2 separate regions of the Homo sapiens genome follow, and region 2 is linked to region 1. The links are contacts of gene promoters, found by promoter capture Hi-C in human tissues and cell types (Jung and others, 2019). All regions are on one chromosome and are shown on one strand. The core of a region is centred on a gene start or on the middle of the fragment in contact, and the rest is flanking DNA. Distances in the headings are between cores, read along the strand shown.

Region 1 (5,785 bases), core at 1,039-3,538:
GCCAGGAACATTTGAAATAATGCCTTGATAAAAGCGTCCATCAGACCCCCGAGCACCCTTCCTTTCCATGAATTATAACCAACGGAAATCCGGTGCACTTAGCATGTCCAGCTTTGAGTGAAGCCCCCAAGCTTCCTGCCCCTGAGACTGCCGCCCCTAAACCTCTCTTGCATGGATTCTGTAGAGCTGCCCCGACCAGAAGTCACTTAGCCACTCCTCTGCTCCAGGCCTCGTGGCCTGCTGGAGGCCAGACAGTGGGTAAGTCACGCTCAGCAGTGCCTACAACTCAAGCCACTGCTCAAAGGCTGTTGTTTTATTTCTCAAGTTAGACCACAGGCTCTGTAGCAACTTGGGCCTCCTTGGACACACACAGTGTGACGCTGAGACACAGTCCTCAACGCTGCTATGGTGTAGAATTTTTTGCGGAGAAAGACAGGAAGGCCTCTTGAGGTCAGTGTGAGACAGGGACACTCCACTGGGGCATAGGTATATCACTCACAGGTTGAAGGTAGGTAGACTGAGGCTCAAAGAGCAAGCGGAGGAGCTAATGTTCAACCCAGGTGGTGTGGAGTCTCAGTCCAGTGGCCTTACCCTCCACGGCCACGTTGCTAGTTATACTGGACAGAGCTCAGACTGTGCCCTGGCCTGTGTAGATGCACCAGAGGTTTTATCTGGGGGTCACAGCCGCTGGGAACGGGAGAGTTGCTGGGGATTGCCAGGAAGGGACAAGGCATTTGTAGCCATGCACCATCTGCTTTTACACTACCCTAGAGTCAAGTGGACCCCCTCCAGCATTTTTTTTTCCCCGAGATGGAGTCTCACTCTGTCACCCAGGCTGAAGTGCAATGGTGTGGTATCGGCTCACTGCAACCTCTGCCTCCCGGGTTCAAGCGATTCTCCTGAGTAGCTGGGACTACAGGCGCATGCCACCACGACCGGTTAATTGCCCCTCCAGCATTGTATGTGTCTGACTGCAATGAAGTGTGAGTGTGTCTGTGTGCGACTGTGTGTGTATGATGTGAGTGTGTCTGTGTCTATGTGGGGGCCAGGTGTATAGTCTGCATATGTCTGTGCACCTCTGTGTCTCTGTGGGTTGTCTGTGCCTATGTCTCGGCTTGTGTGTGTGCATGCATGTGTGGTCTGTGTGTGTCTGTATGCATGTGGTATCTCTGGGATGTGTGTCTGTATGTCCCTGCGTGCAGTGTAGTGACTTTGGGAGTGCACATGTGTACACGTGTGGTGAGTGTGCGGCCCTGCGCGAGTTGTCTGTGTACGTGTGGTGCCTGTGGGTCTGTGTGCGCGCGTGTGCCCGTGGGTGTGGTGTGTCCTCCCGCGCTGAGGCTCCCATGAACCCAGCTCAGTTCAGGCCTCCCTGACAGTCCTCGGGCGGCCACCCCGGGGCGCGGCTGTCCACGAGGCGCGGAGGAGAGGAGTGCGTGGCTGGGTCGGCGGGCGGCGCCCCCGCTCCTCCCCGCGGGCCGGGCACACGTGGGCCCCGGGCGCCGCCTCCCCGCGCCGCCCGCCGCCCGCCGGGTCCCGCGCGTCCCCACCCACCTCGGGCCGCCCCCGCCGCCGAGCCGGCCCAGGGATAAAGTGGCGGCGCAGACGCCGCACCCTGTCGCCGCGAAGCCGGTCGCGCGCAGCTCGTCCCGGCCCTGGCCCGCCGCAAACGAGGATCCGCTGCGCTCGGGGAACGCGACAGCGGCGCTCGTGGCCCCGGTAACTGCCTCCCGGCCCCTGCCCCAGCCCGCCAGTGCCGCCGTCAGGGGTGGGGAGCAGCACTGGGGTCCCGGACACGCCCGGCGTGGGCTCCCGCTACCCATGTGTGCGTGTGTGTGTGTGCACGGTGTGTGTGCGCGCGTGTCCGAGTGTGCGCGCGTGTGCGCGCGCGCGCGCCCTCCCTGCTCCTTCGCACCAGCCCCCAAACCAACTTGTCCCCATCAACTCCATCTTTCTAGTCCCCACCTTCCCCGGTGCAGACACCCGGCGAAGCCCACCCGGTTTTCCCAGCGGCATTTCCGATGACAGCTTCGGGGCTACGTGTCCTGTGCTGTCGGAGACGCACAGGAAGCAAAGTTTGTGAGAAGCCTTGGGGGCGACTTTGCCTTGGGCACCCGCATTTGTGCGTCTGCGAGGTGCCTCGGTGTGCGCGGAGCTAGTTTCCCAGTTTCCCGGGCCCCTCCCTTCTCCGAGCCCCTCTAGCGATTTGTTTAGGAAAAGTGATGACATGAACTAGTAGTGGAGAATCGCAGCGCCGCTCCCCGCCCTGGGGAGGGAGGGGAGCCCCGGAGAGCCTGCCGGTGGGAGCTGGAAGCAGGCTCCCGGCTGAGCGCCCCAGCCCGAAAGGCAGGGTCTGGGTGCGGGAAGAGGGCTCGGAGCTGCCTTCCTGCTGCCTTGGGGCCGCCCAGATGAGGGAACAGCCCGATTTGCCTGGTTCTGATTCTCCAGGCTGTCGTGGTTGTGGAATGCAAACGCCAGCACATAATGGAAACAGGTTTGTCATGTATCCTTGGAATTTCAGATGGGAGGAATAATCTGAGTATCATCCACCTCATTATTGTGCCCACTTGAAACTGTTCCTTGGAGATTTTAAGATAGATGGGTCTTCTTGCAGCTGGGTCTTTGTACCCATAGAGCTGACTATAATTTCCACTTGATTACAGCTAAAATAGTCTTTAAGATGAAGTTTCCTGAAATGATTTAAAATAAACACAGATGGGAAGGGGGAAAAACTGTAATGAGGCACTTAAAAAATAAAGTGAGCATTTTCTTAAGAACAAATGGGATTTTTCAGTCTTGGAGAGGTTTGCAAGAAATGTATGTATGTTTTAAACCTTTGAAACAGAGGGGTTTTTTAAACTGCTTTTAAAAAAATGTTACTGACTCTGAACTAGACTTTTCTCTCCTATCCATACATGTTCTTGAGATATTTCTGACTTTGGAATATGTCACTTTTCCTTCTAGGACCTGAAGACCCTTCCAGCATGCCAGAGGAAAGTTCCCCCAGGCGGACCCCGCAGAGCATTCCCTACCAGGACCTCCCTCACCTGGTCAATGCAGACGGACAGTACCTCTTCTGCAGGTACTGGAAACCCACAGGCACACCCAAGTAAGTCTTCCCCAGAAAGTCACCCCAGGTGACAGGGGAGCATGGCCCCTGCTTCTCCTCTGGTCGTTATCATGTGCCATCTGGGGCGGGGCCGCTTTCTCTATGACCTACTTCCCCTGCCGTTTTAATGTTAGGCTGAGCAATGTTAACAAAGCTAAAATGTATACTTTATAATTTTTAAATTTAAGAAGCAGGAATTCTTTTTTCATTATAACAACTCAGATATGGATCCTACCGTATGGCAATTTTCAAAAATTCCACATGACTTTATTTTTTGTACTGGAGTTGATTTCCGGTTGTACAGGCATTCATTTAAAATCAAACCCGACAATTAAGGAAAATCCCCTAGATGGATGAGAAACCCGAAGTAATACATATATCTTCACCTTTGCTCACTTTTCCTGCTTGTTTCTGAGCTTCTGAAGATGGCATACATGTGTCACCAGGAAGAAAGGGGCCTGGGTATTTCCTTCTGATTCCTTGCCAGCTCAATTACTTTGTACATTTTCCATCAAGGATTTGTCTTGCTATTAGAAGCAAACATTGGGACTATACACAAGACAGCTGGTCTCCTGCTGCTGCTCCCTCCTCTTGGATGAAGCAGGAAAACCCTGCTTGTTTGTGTTATTTGGAAAAAGAATTTATTTGTGGTAACCAATTGGCCTGGTGACAAGAACATTTCCTGTTCCAGGGACATTTTACCTGTTTTGTAGGCCTCTTGTCTCCTAGGGATCATTGTGTGGTTGGATTATGTCTCTCTTTGTGCTCCAGTAATCACCCAACCCTCACACAGGTGTAAAATTTCTTCTCTGTCTTCATCAAGGTATCTATGATCCAGGGAGCTGCACGTTAAAAACACAGAGATATGGACTTTTAAAACCCGGCATAGAGTCATAGCTTCAGGGCAGCTACACAGACTGGCTATGGTTTCTCTCTAGTGTTTTCAAGTGGGTAACGTGCTGAGAAGAGTTCCTACCAGTTCTGGTAATACATTTCTTAAAGAATGTGTCTGTACGTGCATACGCATTAGAGGAAGTGGGGGGGTTGTTGAGCATTATGATGCTAATTAATCATTAATTCTCCACTCTGACTTAACTGGCTGTAGAATTGCTCAATCTTGGATTAATTTCTAACAGATTAGTGGTTTGTGGTAATTTGATCAATATACAGAAAGAAGACAAATAATTGAAAATAGAAGTTTTTAATGTCTGAGTCTCAGACTTGGGGGGCTTTGTTGGTTAAGTAGTGAGGTTGTCCTAGTTCGAAGTCAACAAAAATAAAGAGGTTCTGCAGTCCTGGCACAGGGGGAGGGTGGTGGGTGAGTGGGTTAGAAACGGTCAAGTTGGCTGCCCTGCCCTCCCTTCGCCTGCGGGTGGTTTTCACAATCTCTGTGCTGAAGTTGCATTGCAGGGAGCCCTCTCTGCTCCGTTGCTTTTGCTCTAGTTAGAGATGATAACTCAACTTCTTAATTTAAACTGAGCTGCCTCTTGGATGTCAGCGTCCGCCTTGTGGTGGGTGCTGATGGGCTTAAGAACAGAGGTGGATGGTTGAGGCAGTTCGGCCCCAGAATTTGGAAGAAACCTATGGGTCTAGAAAAGGTTAAGGGAAAAAAATATTGAGGGCAGGAGCACTGAAATAGAAAGAGCAACAGAACCATGAGCATGTATGAACACTTTCCATAGTGTTATCCTCAGTTTACCAAAGAGGAAGGGGCTGGCCAAGGTCCTACCTACCTGTCCTGCCCTGCCTCCAGCCCCTGGAGATGATGCAGAGGTCCTGGAGGCCCCTTGCCATGACTCATGTTAACCCTGTGCTTGCTGGATCTTGGGGCAGTCTTGGGGGTCCTAGGGTGGGGGCTCAGGGCAGAGGTTTGTGCCAGCCAGCATGAAACACCTCTGTATCTTCATAACCGAGACCAGCTGCTCAGCCTGCCTGCCCTCTTGCATGATCTGGGAGACCCCCGCAGCATCATTATAATAAGTATTATTATTATTGCCTGCACAGAATCATTCACTCTGCTTTTAGGAAGAGGGAGGGGACCTCAAGTCACCAGGGCTTCAATCTTTCCCCCCAGGCTTTTTACCCCTCTTCAGCAAAACTAGGGCCTCGCTTTGTGCAATCCTGTCTCCTCCCAGTTAGGAAGAAAGAAGGGAGGAAAAGCAAGGGGCAAAAAAAGAGGAGACTGAACCCTCCCCCACTACTGTACCAACTGTGGGCAAAACCTGGGTTAAGAGCACCTCATCTCCAGCCCCGCCTCTGCTATCTTTCTCATAGAGACCCTAGGGACCTCAGAAGCCACCCCGGGGGCCTGTGGATATCTTATTATGCAGAAGGATCTGTGCCAGCCTCGGTTAGTCAGTACTGGTTTGGGTAGATTTTCTGGCCAACCAGTTACCTCCAGCTCCTGGAGCCTGCCGTGAGCACCTACAGAGACATATTGCCCCCAGAGGACCTGCTGGGTTCCAAGACTGGCTCTGCAGGTGGCTCGGAGCAACACTAAGCCACAGGTGTCAGCCGCTGCACTGGGAACCTGGCTTAACCCGCTTTATGCAAGCAAATTCTGTCGTATAAACACCAGCCTCCTCGGACTGGACCCTGAGAAAGAGAAAGCATGTCTTGGGTTAGCCTTTACCATCAGTGCTGTTTTTAACGTAGCAGGCCAGAGTCTCCGTATTT
Region 2 (5,785 bases), core at 2,253-4,752, 220 kb before region 1:
TCTTGATATCTGCAGAAGAATAAACAAGAAATTTGTAATAATAATGAATCCCCGCCTGGAACTTCTTTTGATACTGTTTAAGAATCAGCACAAAATAAAATTTATAATTTATAAGATAAACTTTATTACATAAAATCTATAGTTTTGTAGTGAAAAAATAATTTTTTTCAACCAAAAATTTGACATTGCTAGTGACAGAAATGTTGGGTACTGAGTGCTCAGAAGTTCTATTGTTAAAAGATCAAAGTGTTAAACATATATTCATCAGAATGCTCTTAAAGCTTGTGCAAGTGAAGAAAAATTGTGATTATCGATGAGAAAAGAACTTAAAAGAATATAATCAGTTTCATAAATTAAGTATTTGAAAACTTAGAACTCCCAAAAAGGTTATCAGAGTGAGGATAAAGCAATCAAAAAGATTTAGGGCCAAGCTTGGTGGCTCATGAAATCCCAGCACTTTGGGAAGCCAAGGTGGGCAGATCACTTGAGGCCAGGAGTTCGAGACCAGCCTGGCCAACATGGTGAAATCTCGCCTCTACTAAAAATAAAAAATTAGCTGAGCATGGTGGTGCGTGCCTGTAGTCCCAACTACTCAGGAGGCTGAGACATGAGAATGGCTAGAACCCTGGGGGGTGGAGGTTGCAGTAAACCGAGATCTCATCACTGCACTCCAGCCTGGGCAACAGAGCGAGACTCTGTCTCAAAAAAAAAAAAAAAAAAAAAAAAAGATTTAGAAGGTACTGTCAGAATTTTTAGCACTATTATATAGTTAAGTATAATTGAGCATTTCACACACATTTACTAGAACTTCAAAAGGATTAATATTGATATGAACACGCCATTGTATTCTGGACCCACCTGTTAAAAACCAGATGTACCCAAATGAGAAAACAGCTTTTTGAAAAATATGTAAATCAAAGAGGTGTATTTAAAATCATCATCTAAGAAGCTTCATTTTTTTATGTGAATGTGTTTTAATAATTAAAATGCAAATTTAAAGGTTTTTGAATATAATGGTTTTTGTTGATCTTATGACACTGGGAAACATTTAGTACACTGTATTGTCTTTATTATGAGTACACAAGAAAGAATTACATTTGAGATATAGTTCCATAAAGATGTAATTGGAATATTGTACCAAATAAGAAAATTGTCATTGGATTTTATACAAAAAATGCTAATGTAATTCTAGAGAGAGTATGGAGTTTCAGCCAAAAGTTTAGGAAAAATGTGGATGTTTTAATTTGGCACTAAATTATCAAATTTAATTTTGGATAAACCAATACAAGTCAGGGAACTCATGCTTTTCTTGATAAACTATATTTACTACCACACACCAAGTAGCAGAAATAACTACATTAAGTAATGCAAATTGAACCTTGATGGACAAGCCTGCAGTGCTAGATCTGCAAAAGCAATGTGGAAGTCGGTAAGTTCTGCATTCAAATGCTCTACCCCTGAGCTATATACCCGCTGTGGTGGAAGTCAGTAAGTTCTGTATGTTCACTGTAATGGAAACAAATGCAGTGGCTGTTTGAAAAATATATTTTAAAGAGTTTGGGCCTTAATAAATGATATTTTAATGGAGATGTCAGTATTTAGAGTTTTTTTGTTTTGTTTTGAGATGAAGTCTCGCTCTGTTGCCCAGGCTGGAGTGCAGTGGCGCGATCTCAGCTCACTGCAACCTCCATCTCCTGAGTTTAAGTGATTCTCCTGCCTCAGCCTTCCAAGTAGCTGGAATTACAGGCGTGCGCCACCACACCTGGCTAATTTTTGTATTTTTAGTAGAGATGGAGTTTTGCCATGTTGGCCAGGCTGGTCTCAAACTTCTGACCTCAAGTGATCTGCCCACTTCTGCCTCCCAAAGTGCTGGGATTATAGGCGTGAGCCACCGTGCCCAGCAGTATTTATTTTAGCTTTATAAGAAAACATATTTTAGCTATTAGAGCTGACATTATTTCAATAAACTGTAAAGCAGTTGGACATATGTAAACAAAGGGAAGTTTGAAACAAGTGGAAGTTATTATGGATAAGAAAAAATAGGTATCCTGTTTGAAAAAAAAAGTGAAGTATCAATTCCAAGAGAAAAATTATTGGCTTTTCTAATAAATCAATGTATTTGGTGACAAAAGTGAAAAATGTAATAAACTTTTAAGCCCTTTCAATTTTTTGAATCTTGAAATAAAGCCCCCTGGTTTGTGAAGCTCCGTGAATTGAGAGTGAACAGAACATAGTGAATAAGCCAGTAAGTTAAAAGATATTTCAATAAGTGATTTGTGTGACTTAGTCAATAACAGATATTGAATCAGTTCTGTATGTTCTTAGACTTTATTATAGTCTATAAAATGTTTAAATTTAATTGCTATTAATAAGAAACTGAGGATTCAACACTAAAAACAGTATCATTGATGTTAAGGAAATTCTCTGCTTAATTCATTTAATGATTATCCATTTAATGAGGAAGTTGTTGGAACAATTTGATGTTGCTTCCTATGTCAAATCATCACTCCATACAGGGGCAAAATCTAGTGACAACTGTATCAAAAGATTCATAACTTCCAAAAACCAAGAAATGATTTAGACATACTAGAAAGATCTGTCAAATTATTTTTGCTGCAAGTTACATTGTCATTTTATGATATTTATTTAGAAATAGGAGATATGTTTTTAAATTTTTGATTTACATATTGACCAGTTCAAGATGACTTCTTGTTTTGTTTGTAAAATCTAGAGAGATCACATAAAACATAAAATCTAGATTTTTTACTTCTCTTGGAAGATCAGAAGACCCGACAGCACTAGGCTAATATTCCTACATGCCAGAAATCAGTAAGTTGTGGCTGCTTTTTTAAGATTGGTCAGCAGCTCTTTGGCTCCCCACAGTTACCACTTGTCCCTTGCCTCTTGCCTGGTCTCTAAGCATTTGAATTTGTGGCCTCTGCTGTAGTTTTAAGCCTGGGTTCTTGGCAGGATGGGGGTGTCATTTATTTCATTTACCTAAATAAGGAAATCGAGAACAGGTTGCCTACTTACCCCCATGGTGAGTGTGTGTGTGTGTGTTTGTGTGTGTGTGTGAGAGAGAGGAAAGTGAATTTTATTTTAAACATGCAGAGTTTGAGGTACTGGAAATTGATCAATGAGAAGTCCAATAAGCAGACCTGGTGCTCAGAAATGAGTTAGGATTAGAAGCATGTTAAGTCGTTTTCCATGAGAGTGGATGAGATTTCTAAGGGAGAAAGCATAGAGAGACCAGATTCAAGGAGAGACCCAGTGGGAGAGGGGGTCAACCATATTTAAGGGTGGGAAGGAGGAGGAACAGCCAGGTAACAAGACAATCCGATATAATAATTAGGTTGGGGAAGACAGCGGGTTGGGGGAGCTGGTTATTCTTTTGGCCAGTTGGTGTGTTGGTTAGGATATAAATCCGGCTGTTAGCTGGGCACGGTGGCTCACGCCTGTAACCCCAGCATTTTGGGAGGCTGAAGCGGGCAGATATGAGGTCAGAGTTGGAGACCAAAAATTAGCCGGGCGTGGTGGCACGCACTTGTAATCCCAGCTACTCAGGAGGCTGAGGCAGGAGAATCGCTTGAACCTGGGAGGCAGAGGTTGCAGCGAGCCAAGATTGCGCCACTGCACTCCAGCCTGGGCAACAGCGCGAGACTCCATCTCAAAAAAAAAAAAAAAAAAAAAAAAAAAATTAGCCGTTGCTGCAGATTAAAAAAAAAAAACAAAAAAAACAAATCAGTATCATAAACCAGATGGAAGTCCAGGTAGCAGTATAGGTCTGAAGCTTGCTCTCTCTTATTTCTCCACTCCCTTTTGGGTGGTGCTGTGGCCCACAAAATCCAGTATGGCCCATCATTGTGTCTATATTTTGGCCATTTGGAAGATGAAAGAAAAGGGAGAGGTGGGACTGCCCTTCTGTTAATGCACAACCTGGAAGTTGGACACATTGCATCTATTCTATTCCTTTGGCTATAACCTAGTTGCACTTATCTGAAAAGGAGTTTGAAAAATCTAGTCTTTATCCTGTAAAGTCATGGGCTGGCTACTGCCATGGAACAAGGGGAGAATGGGTATTGGGAGACAGCTCTCAGTCTGTCTAACAGGTGGTGAAGAGAAAGTGGGACTTGAGAAGGAGAAAGGGGAGGGAATATGGTAAATTTCTGGGATTGGACAGAGATAGCTCCCTATGGCTAAAACAAAGAGTAAGGCTAGCAATAAAGCTATCATTGGAGAAGCTAGGCTTCATTACAGTTGTTAATATCTAGCAAATGCATGACGAGCTAGACAGATGAAGGAAAATGGTGCCCTTCAGAGATAGAGGCCTTCCAGATTTCTGAGATAGAAGCTCTCCAGGAGGAAAAAAAGAAAAGGAAGCCAGGCAGGCCTGACTCCCAGGGAAGAATTCAGGAGGCTTTTCCCATTCTGGAGATCAGAGAATACCCAAGAAACATCCAGGGCATGGCAGATTGTGTCAGTCAGGGTTCTACCACAGAAACAGAACCAGTAGTAGGAGATGCATACAGTCGACCCTTGGTATCCGTGGGATGTTGGTTCCAGGACCCCCCAACCCTAGCATCCCCACCCTCTGCAGATATCAAAATCTGTGGATGCTCAAGTCCCTGATATAAAATGGTGTAGTATTTGGTTATAACTTACACACATCCTCTTGTATATTTTAAATGATCTCTACATTACTTACATCTAACAATGTAAATGCTATATAAATAGCTCTTTGTATTTATGTTTTATTTTTCATTGTTTTTTAAAAAACTTTTTTTTTCTTTGAGACAGAGTCTTGCTCTGCTCAGGCTGGGGTGCAGTGGCATGATCTCAGCTCACTGCAGTCTCCACCTCCCAGGTTCAAGCAATTGTCCTGACTCAGCCTCCCAAGTAGCTGGGATTACAGGCACCCACCACCACGCCCAGCTAATTTTTGTATTTTTAGTAGAGACGAGGTTTCACCGTGTTGGCCAGGCTGGTCTTGAACTTGTGACCTCAGGTGATCCTCCTGCCTGGGCCTCCCAAAGTGCTGAGATTACAGGCGTGAGCCACCCTTCCCAGCCTAAAAAATATTTTCAAACTATGGTTGGCCGAATCTGCAGATGCAGCACAGATATGGAGGGCCGGCGGTATATATATCAGAGAGATATATATGGTAGAGAAATAGAAAGAGAGAGAAAAATAGGTGTATTTCAAGGAATTGACATAATATGATTGTGAAGTCTGGTTGGGTGTATCTGAAATTTCATGCAGTAGGGCCGACAGTCCGGGAAATTGGGCAGGAGCTGATGAGGTGCCCACAGGAAGAATTTCTTCTCCTTCAGGGAAACCTCCATTTTCTAAGGCCTTTCAGCTGATTGGATGTGGTCCACCCATGTTATTGAAGATAATATTTTTTAAGGTAATTGACATCTACAAAAATATCTTCAAGGCAACACCTAAGTTAGTGTTTGACTGAATAACTGGTTACTCTAGCCTAGCCAATTCGATACAAAACTAACCATTACTTATTTGCTTAACCCAAATACAAAAACCTGTGGCACAGGGTGTTAATGTGAGAATTACACCAGATACTCATCCAGGTATTAGGTTTTGGATCTGAGAGAGACTGAACAATTTGTATTTTTTCCTTTTCTGTGCTGGAAACTGATCTGTTTTTTTTCAGTGCTGTTTTCATTACCTCTCTGATCTTCTTAATGAGGTTAAAAGTACAGAAAAGTTTAAAGATTAATAAGATGAACACTGTATTCCCACCACACAGGATTAACAATAGTGAACA

Evidence for each region. Contacts are between HindIII fragments. The study calls those that stand out against the background at their distance.
Region 2: a fragment that was not itself captured here is called in contact with the fragment with the promoter of MGLL in region 1 in 1 of the 25 tissues and cell types used here (spleen).

Annotation. Positions count from the first base shown.
Region 1 is chr3:127,819,018-127,824,802 of GRCh38, reverse strand. It overlaps MGLL (monoglyceride lipase), which reads left to right and starts at 2,288. Exons shown (of 8, transcript NM_007283.7): 1 at 2,288-2,494; 2 at 2,965-3,109. The coding sequence starts at 2,485. RefSeq lists a silencer at 1,327-1,846. The HindIII fragment of the contact is 31,525 bases long and covers 1-5,785 here.
Region 2 is chr3:128,044,463-128,050,247 of GRCh38, reverse strand. All of the region lies in intron 1 of LOC102723759 (a long non-coding RNA gene), which reads left to right. Among named protein-coding and RNA genes, the nearest start is that of SEC61A1, 5.1 kb to the left of the region's middle. The HindIII fragment of the contact is 5,623 bases long and covers 691-5,785 here.